2 separate regions of the Homo sapiens genome follow, and region 2 is linked to region 1. Evidence: promoter capture Hi-C in 16 types of primary human blood cells and fetal thymus (Javierre and others, 2016). All regions are on one chromosome and are shown on one strand. Each heading gives the region's core, a stretch centred on a gene start or on the middle of the fragment in contact. The rest is flanking DNA. Distances are from core to core; before and after follow the strand shown. Region 1 holds the start of RTN1 (reticulon 1). Region 2 has its middle 15 kb from the start of CCDC175.

Region 1 (4,827 bases), core at 1,791-4,290:
GGCAGGGGCCTGAGGGGCATGGAGGTGGGACAGTTAATGGTAGATATAAAAATATAGTTAGATACGAGTGAATAAGATCTAGTATTCACTGGCACAATGGGGCACCTACAGTCAACAATAATTTATTTTATATTTCAAAACAACAAAAAGATTATAATCGGATTGTTTGTAACACAAAGAAAGGATAAAAGCTTGAGGTGATGGATACCTTATTTACCATGATATGATTATTATTCATTGTATGCCTGTATTAAAATATCTCATATACCCCATAAATATATACACCTACTATGTACCCACCCACAAAAATTTTAAAAAAAATCTCCAGGTTACAGTTGAGGAACCTGGGTTGTAGAGATGTTAGGTAACTTTAATATTGAGGCTGGAAAGAATTTCATCTTGGTTAAAGCTTGTTACTTGTGGCGCTCTTCCTGCATGTCCCCACACCGTGTTTCCCCATGATATATGGTTTGGACTAAGTTAAGAAGCTAGTGCTAAATAAATGCTCCTCATTTCTTCTTTTCAAATGATGAACAAAACTTCTTTTCCAAAAAACAAAAGCTGAAAACAAAACGTGACAGTTCTTTTGTCTCAACTCTTCTTGCTAAGAACCTTTTAAAAGTGACAATCCTATTTTCTCTGTGTCTGAAAAGCATTTTAGAGTAATTCGTAACTTAGAGCAACTATGTAAGCCCCAGAATCCCATTGCCGACTGTGTGTTTTGCCCATAAATCTTCAAATTAGTCAAGCTTTGTCAGTTCAGAGCGGTGCAAAATAAATAATATTAATAAACATGAATCATTTCAAGTCATAGCATAAACCTGAAAATTTCTTCCCCCAAATAGATAATTTTTATACATCCAAAGGTGGAGTCTAATAAGGAAAGTTAGTAATGAAAATTGCTAACACTGAAATCTTGTGCTCATCTCTTTTCAGCAGTGTAAAATAGAATACTTTATCAAAATGGAACTGTCAATAATGTTCAATTTCCTTTAACAACTACACTCTAAATAGATTTAACTGGCTATTTCCTTCACACATTCTCAATGAGAGTATTGATTAGTATGAAAGAAATTGACAAATAATTAGAATCATATCCCCAAACTTCCTATCTATTAATCATAAGGAAACACAGAGGCTTGCTTAGGTCTCCCAGTTTTTTAATGATGACTTTCATTCATGTTTCTCAGAGAAACAAAAGAATATACTTCATATTATTTTGTATGTAACTCCTTTGCATAGCAATTCTCAAATATTAGTATTCATCAATAACCACTTTAAGGTTATATCATTAGAATTGTCTATGTTCTTGTCTTGTTATCAGTAATAAAACCATGAGAAATTCCCATCTAGTATTTCTGATGCTTTAGGGAATACTAAGTAATAGATTTGAAAAAACTTACAAGTGCCCTCTAATTACAAGACAGGATTAAGCTCCATGGAAATACAGCAGTGGAATAAGCTTTTCAACTTAACGGTTTTTTAAATACACTCTTGTTTTCCCATGGAAAGATGTTTAAAAATCATTATGATTCATGATAACCAATTATTTTGTTGTTTTTGGATGAGATTATTTTTATAGATTTATTGAGTTATAACTGACAACACATTAAATTGTTCATATTTACAGTAAACAATAAGTTTTGACATATGTTTGCACCTGTGAAGCTATAACCACAATCTAGATAGTGAATATTTCCATCATGAGACATAATTTTGAGTATGTCAAAAATGTAAAATTTTGGTGACCATCAGATTTCCAGGGATATCTGGCTTCAGGAGGCCATATTTATTGTTTAGTGAATGATTTTTCTCTAATTTATTGTCATCTTTTGAACATTAGTGCACTAGCAGAACAAAAGATTAGGCAGACTCTGGGCTTTTTCATTTTAGCATTATTGAGGAGCACCTGAATGGTCCTGAAGTTGGCCTTTGAATATACCAATGGACAGGTATGAAATCCTCAAGATGCGCATGGTGGCCAAGAGTCCCACAGTCTCACAGTGTGTGCGGTACCGTCTGCGCCCACCTTTCCTAGAGAAGAAACAGCAGAAAAACCTATTCCTTCACCCTGTGTGTTGTGGTGAATCTTAGTTTTTAAAGGCACATTATTTTATTATATAAACAACTTGGGAACCAATAAAACACAAGACATTTGAAAAGATGGGTCTTCGTATGGGCACAACATATGATAAGGCAAGTCACTTTCCTCCTCTGAGTTTGGGTTTATTTGCTGACTATCTTCCATTTTATCACAGTGAACTGTAAAGAAAAAGATGCAAGCTTCATGGAATGTCCAAATTCTGAAATACAACGGACTGCACAGACAGCTTATGATTAGGATGGCCTTGGCTCAGTGTTTCTGAAAGCAAATGTACAGCTTTTGTCCTTGCCTATTGACACCCTGTTTGCCCTCAGGGCTGGTCAGGGTGAGATCTGTTAAGCTTTTTTTGGAGGCTGTCCTGATAACTCATTTCTTTACTCCACTATTTTCAGGCCCATTCTGGAAACGCAGGATTTAACCGCGGGGTTGCAGCTTCCCTGGTCTCCATCTGCCATCAGAACCCATCTCCACCCCTTCCCCGTTCAGACCTGTGTCCCCTCCACAACTCATACTGGTCACTCTCAGAACTGTGGCCCTGAGTTCTCTAGCTTTCCCTCTTTGCCTCGGGACCCAGGACACCAGTCGGGGCTTAACTTTCTCAGTTGGGAAGGCGACGCTGCTGGTGGCTGCTGCTACTTGCTGGTTCTTCCTTTTTTTTCCTCCCCAAACGAGAGGAAGATTCGAGTGGATTTGGCACATCCCCTAACCGGGGCCTGCCATTTGCAGGTTGGGGGCTGACGTGCCCAGGAGGACCCGGACCAAGCAGGCCATTTTCACCTGCGTAATAACAGGATTGGGAATAGCGAAGCAGCGGCGGCAGCAGCGAGTGGAGTAGGAGGAGGAGCGCAGGCAGCGGCCGCGGCGGGGCCGGAGGAAGAGGAGGGGGGAGAAGGAGGAGCTGAAGCGGGAAGAGCGGCAGGCAGCGGCTCGGCGGAGTTGCAGCAGAGGCGGCGGCGACGCTGAGACACCGCAGCTTCCCTGAGCGCCGAGTCCCTCCGGGGACAGCAGCAGGGAGCGCCCGCGCAGCCACCGAGCCTCTGCCCAGCCAAGCCGCCGTCGCCGCGCCGGGGGACCGCCAGCCATGGCCGCGCCGGGGGATCCGCAGGACGAGCTGCTGCCGCTGGCCGGCCCCGGGTCCCAGTGGCTCAGGCACCGGGGGGAGGGGGAGAACGAAGCGGTGACGCCGAAAGGGGCCACGCCGGCGCCGCAGGCTGGGGAGCCCAGCCCGGGGTTGGGCGCCAGGGCCCGGGAAGCGGCGTCGCGGGAAGCCGGCTCGGGCCCCGCCCGGCAGTCGCCCGTTGCCATGGAAACTGCATCCACAGGTAAGGCGGGCGCCGCTGCCCCTCAAATGGCGTCGGGGACCAGGGCCCCCCAGTCAGTCCCCTTCTGCGCGGCTCTCCTGGGCACCTGCCTCGCGCTTTCTGCCTTGAGCGCCGACCCCACCCCCGCGTCGCCACGGGCGACTGGGAATATTCGCGGGCTGGTAGAAAACAACAATTTTATTTTTCCCAAAGGCTCAGAAAAAGTCAAGATGCTTTTGATCCTTTTATTTCATTATCATGATTATTTCCGCTTTAAAAATTGTTCTCATAGGCAAACAGCAGCATTCTGGCTGCTGGCGAGTCTGGGTACAAGTTTCTCCCTCCTGCCAGGAGGCTCCGAGCTGTAGGGCCCGTTTGACAGGTTGTGGGGATTTTGGGGGGCGTGTTTGCGCGCAGTGTGCGCGCCGGCTACAGGAGATGCTGACAACCGAGCGGCGGGCAGGCCCGCGGCCCCTGGACCCGGCTCTGTCCAGGGCAGAGATGTGGCTGTAACTGCCCCTTACCCTTGCCCTCCACGAATCGCCACCACACCTTACTCCCCCCACATCCCTCCGCCTTTTCTCCCGCAGAAAACAAATCCCAGGGAGTTTGTCCCTAATTCGGGAGGCACAGCTTTGCAAGAGGGTTGGGTGCTGTGGCTGCCCCCGCCCAAAACCTGTATTTCGCCGCTGCCCGGATGGCCCCACCTTGCAGGGAGCATTGAAACTTCAAGTCCTAAGTGCGGCGGGCCTGGCTGTGGGTTGGAGGGCTTGGGTGGTGGTGAGTGGACGTGGTACAGTTTACCAGCAGTCTAAGCGCCCCCCCCCCCCCACCCCGGAAATTGCCCTGGGTTTGGCCATTCTTCGCCTGACGCCCTATTCAAAGTCTGAGCGCGCCAGTGTCCAGCGGGAGCCCAGGCCCCTGGCGCATCCTGGTCAAAGGATCCAGGAAGCGCGCTTTGAGGCTGCCGGCCTGGTTAACGCTGTTTCCAGGGAGAGGAAAGGGGATGCTGTGTGGTGCTCTTTCCTGAGAAAGCTTTGCTATGGTGGAGTGGGAGTTGTGTAGTTTTGGCAATGTAGAGCTAGAAGGCCTGGGGTGGGGGGTGCTCCCAGAGGAGGGGAAGGGGAGTGGGACTGGTGTGTGTGCTCTTGGTGGTTGATTTAAAGAAACCCCTTTTCGTAAGCTTCTCTTAAGGGTTATGTGGAATGTCTAAGGTAATCGTAATTAACTGCCCTGGTACAGAAGATCTGAGCTGGGGAAAAGAGGTTTGGAGAATGCGTTGAATAAAAATTGTCAATATCCTGAAAGGAAGAGAAAAAGTGGAGACCCTATATAAGAAAAAAGAAAAAGAAAGAAAGAAAAGTACTCAAAAGCCCCAACGCCAAACGCCAAAGGTTATATATTAATTATTATATCCCTAGG
Region 2 (4,855 bases), core at 919-3,418, 280 kb after region 1:
GGGCTTTATTCTCTACATCTCAGAGAGTCACATAGACACAACAAAGGTACAAGATACTGAAGGCTAGACAAATAGAGTGATAATTGTAACCTAACTCCACCCAGGTGCCAAATGACTAGGTCTTTACTAGAACAGCCACAGAAAGAATAGAAAGATGTTCACCTGTCCCTGATCCTTGATAGCCCAGCATGCCAAGCACCCACCATGGATAAGGTGCAGCTAACAGATGATGTGGAGGGAGATTGGACTGGAGCTGGTAACCAACTAGCTGCGGGGCTTCAAGATGAAAGCTGGCCTTGAGAATGAGTGCCTCCTTGAATTTTGCACCCAAGGAAGCTCGGTTGCCTCACCCTAGCCCAGCACTAAGACTCGCTGATCAGCAGGATGCAATGCCATTTTCCAGGACAGAGAGCCCAGAAGAGATTATTTGGGGAAAGAAGATACTAAGCTTAGTTTGGTGCCTGATTTTTTTTTTAATGGTTACTAGATTTAGAAGAGGATTTTCTTTTTTCTTTATGTTTTTCAGCCTCCAACCTTTTAGACAAAGTTTCTTCTACATGGCTTTATTGTATAGAATTAATCTTCAATATCTGTATCTGCAACATTGTCCTCATACTATAGACCCAGAATTCCTCTCACAGGCAGCTGCTCATTAGGAAGGTCTAATTAGGAACTCTCTTTGCTGGCAGTGGTGGAGAAGTTTCCTAAGGAAACTCCAGGCTTCCAAAATAGTAGGTATGGATGTAGATTTTTCACAAATGGAACATGGGGCACATTATACCCTGTTTCTACAGGGAGCATCAGCCCAGGTGATATTCAAGATGATGGAAATAATGTGAACAGATGAGAAGAGGACCAAGAGCAGAGCCCCTGGAAAATCCAGAGTGAGTGAGGTGATTCTGAAAGCTGTGAACAGTAGAAAATTCTTACAGCCCATATATGGATGAGTGAAAGCAGTAAGAGCAAATGAAGAAGCTGCAGTATTCTAACGGATAAAGCATGATAGTTTCTATGTCCTCTGCTCTTTCCCCACCCATGTTAGTTTCCTAGGGTTACTCTACAAAAGTATCAAAATCTGGGGTTTTTTTTTTTTTTAAACTCTCAGGCTGGAGTGAAGTGGCACAATCTCAGTTCACTGCAACCTCCACCTCCTGGATTCAAGTGATTCTCCTGCCTCAGCCTCCCAAGCAGCTGGGATTACAGGCGCGTGCCACCACACCCAGCTAATTTTTATATTTTTAGTAGAGATAGGGTTTCATCATGTTGGTCAGGCTGGTCTCAAACGCCTGACCTCAAGTGATCCACCATCTCAGCCTCCTCCCAAAGTGCTAGGATTACCGGGTGTGAGCCATCAGGCCCAGCCTCAAAATCTGGGTTTCCTAAAACAACATAAATTTATTCTGTCACTGTTCTGGAGGTTAGAAGTCCAAAATCAAGGTGTTGGCAGGGCCCTGCTCTCTTTTTCGGCTCTAAGGGAGAACACTTCCTTGCCTCTTCTAATGTCTGCATTTGTCAGCCATCCTTGGTGCTCCCGGCTTGCAGATGGGATACTCCAGTCACTGGGTGCCGCTTCCCTGTGTCATATTGTCTTCCCTCTGTGTCCAAATTTCCCCTTTGAATAAGGACACCAGTCGTAGTGGAATAGGGCCCACCCTAAGGACCTCATTTTAACTTGATTATCTCTATAAAGACCCTGTTTCCAGTAAGGTCACATTTCTGAGGTACAGGGGTTTGGGGCTTCAACATATCTGGTTTAAGGGTGGTGCACAGTTCCACCTGACACTACCTCAGGGCTCATATGGTCCCTTACCCTATTATAAAGACTTCCTCCTGGTGTAGATCCCAAACCTATCTCTGCATTTTGTTTCTCTCTCTAGGGAATCACTGCTGAGAAGTAGTCCCACAGCTTTCTACCTCACCCAAATGCACGTGGGGTGTGGTTGATTGCTGGGCCTTGCTTCACAGCTGTGAGGTTCCAGCAATCACCACATTGTCCTTGAATAGGGCTGCTCTGAGCATCAGAAGGTTAGCACTCTCTTCTGTGTGCAGAGAAGCACGTAGGGGAGACAGAGGAGCCACCACTGGAGCTCATACCAAATGCGTTCGTAGTTGGAGGGGGACTAAGTCCCCTCTGCTGATCCAGGCAGAAGGGCCACCTGCCTTCAGACGCTGACCGGCTTCCCTAGTGCTTGATGTTGGCACCCTCCTCAAGCTCCTTAATCAGATTTTTATTGTATAATTTTATTTTTGTGGTTTATTTTATGATTTTAAATTTTCCTTAATTCAATACATTTAATATTAAATTCTATGTTACAAAATCAGTCTGGCTGGCCACATTTTCTTTGATGAGTACATTGAAATGAATTAATTTGCATTCTAGACCATTATTGTCTTTGAAAGCAATTCTGCTAGAATCAGCTGTCTCTGGTTTCTTGTGGCAGACTGCCACAATTGCTACTTGAGACTATCACTATGACAGTTACTACTGTTACTACTTGAGACCATCATTACGAGACTGAATGAAGGGGGATGAACGTAGAAATAATAACAAAAAAACAAAAGAAACTGTTTTAAAGGAAGGTGCCAGGGGAAGAAGAAGAGGGCTCCCTGCTTCTAGTGAGCAAGGGCAGCAGCCCTGAGCTTATACAGCCCTTCGTATTTATTGGGTAGGAAGAGCAGGGAGGAGGAGCTAACGATTGGTCAGCTGCTTGATTGATGACAGGTGCATATTATTGCTAACAGGCTTTGGATTTGCCTAATCATAAGAAACACTTGTGCCTGGGTCATGTCTGCCCTCAGCATTCCTTCTGGGTGGCAGATGCAGTTTGTGAGTTTGCCAACATTCTGCATTTATGAGAACAGTTTGCTGTTTACTCATACAGCCTCCAGTGGTATACTGAGTTGATCACAACCCTCACACTTTCGGCCTGCAACAGTTTCTCCCTAAAATGATAAAATGGTCCTGAAGAATTAACACTTCATCTTGGCCTGCTTTCTCTAAACATACAACTGCTCTGGATTTTGCTTTGTATGTTTATGTCTTTATAAAACAAGAGAAGTCATCACTAAATTATGACAGGAGTCAAATTCTTAAGTGACTAATGGCAGCCTATGTCAAAATAATACTCAAAAATTAAACAGTTCATATGAAGGGTAACTTTTTTTCAACCTTTATTTCTAGCCATCTCTAACAGAAATAAGGTAGCCAAATATAATGGACGAGACATTAACCTTTTTTAAAAAAATATTCAAACATTTTAAGTAACTAGCATTTTGTAACAAAACAATCACATTGAATTATATCTTCCCCAAAGTGATTTTTTCATGATGCATTTGACATGTCAGAATCAAGATATTTAAGACTGCTTTCTTAAATGTATTATTAAAATTAAATTTAACTTGTCTTTTAATAAAATATGGTTTTAGCATCTCCCAGCCATTTTTCTAGTACTTAATAAGCTCAATGGAGGAAATGCTTATGTTTGGCTTATGAATCAAGGTGAAGGTAAAATGTACTTTGTCAAAATTCAAGTAGTGAATAGATAATTCTCTTTTTTGTCTTTGTTCCCTTGACTTATAAATCCAGGGCCAGTCAATAAAAAGGGTGTGTGTGTCATGGAGACAGAGAGAAATGAACAGGGAAGAACATACGAAATGGGGTACACAGATTTGCCTCCAGCTTTCTGGAGCAGTGCTTCATCTTTTCAGCAGAACATTCTGGAGGAATACCTGGCCAGTCCTCACCCACAGTGCCTCTCCAAAGCTCTACACTTCCCTAAGACATGTTCCTGGAATGCTTTTACATCCCTGTGGTTCAAGAGGCACATGCAACCACGTGGAAGCCCACTGCGCTTCAAGCTCCCACTTCTCCCCTATCAGGGAAGCTTCCCACTGGGAGTAGAGTGTGAATGTATACCCCTTCAGTGGAGATGGTTCAGAAGCCAGCTTTGCAAGCAAAGAATTTCTTTAATCACATATTTCATCTTAGAAGTTAATGTGAACTTGTCTGTCATTGCATAAGACCTTTGCATTTACCTTAATTTAAAAATTCTTCCCCATACTTCTGCATTAAGTTGACTCAAGGAGAATATACCATGTTTTTCTTTTTACACCAAGTAACCCTAGTTTGAGATACGTGGTCTTCAGTGCTCAAGATGCCACGAAGGCAGTTTTGGCTGGGAGATGAAATAGATTTTGACCCTTGAAAGGGGGCTGCATCATGACAGCAGACTTGGGAAGACCATGCTGCATCTTAGCCAATCTTGGCTTTCTTCCTCTCAGAAACTCTGTGAGTGTCTGTCCTCCAGAAAGGCAGGTGAGGCCCTTACTTCCAATTAGCTAGCAACAATAAACGAAGGATTTTATTATCAAATCTTTATAACATTATCAGGGATATTCCCAAAGGTGTACAGACAATGTTTTTTACAATAGCAAATATTGAAAACAATCCTAACATGCCAAGTATCAAGCAATTGAATAAGTAAATTATAGACCTTCTAATGAAAGACCATATAGCCACTTAAATCATCTTGGGGAATGATATTCTGGCATGGAAAATTGTTCACAATATAGCACCGAGTGAAGAAGGTAAGCTACAAAAATAATATGAAATGCACAGGGAAACATTAATCTGTAAAATGAAATCAACATAGAAAATATGAGGGCATACAACAAATATTGAATGTAATTATCTTTCCTCAGGGAAGACTTTGAAAGATCATCCTTTCTCTTTGTGTGTGTGCTTTTTAAGGTTTTAGATTGTTTACATTTTATCTGTGGTGTCTTTTTCTCATTTTTTAAAAATTGAAATATTGTTCCAAACCCCATACCTATCAAAACCAAAGCTATGAAAATG

What was found. The method cuts DNA at HindIII sites, captures the fragments that hold promoters and counts their contacts. A CHiCAGO score of 5 or more calls a contact.
Region 2: a contact is called between a fragment that was not itself captured here and the fragment with the promoter of RTN1 in region 1, in 1 of 17 cell types (M2 macrophages). The highest score is 5.6, in M2 macrophages.

Annotation. Positions count from the first base shown.
Region 1 is chr14:59,868,989-59,873,815 of GRCh38, reverse strand. It overlaps RTN1 (reticulon 1), which reads left to right and starts at 3,040. Exons shown (of 9, transcript NM_021136.3): 1 at 3,040-3,426. The coding sequence starts at 3,186. RefSeq lists a silencer at 3,032-3,131. The HindIII fragment of the contact is 1,996 bases long and covers 2,447-4,442 here.
Region 2 is chr14:59,589,753-59,594,607 of GRCh38, reverse strand. No RefSeq gene overlaps it. Among named protein-coding and RNA genes, the nearest start is that of CCDC175, 15 kb to the right of the region's middle. The HindIII fragment of the contact is 3,436 bases long and covers 451-3,886 here.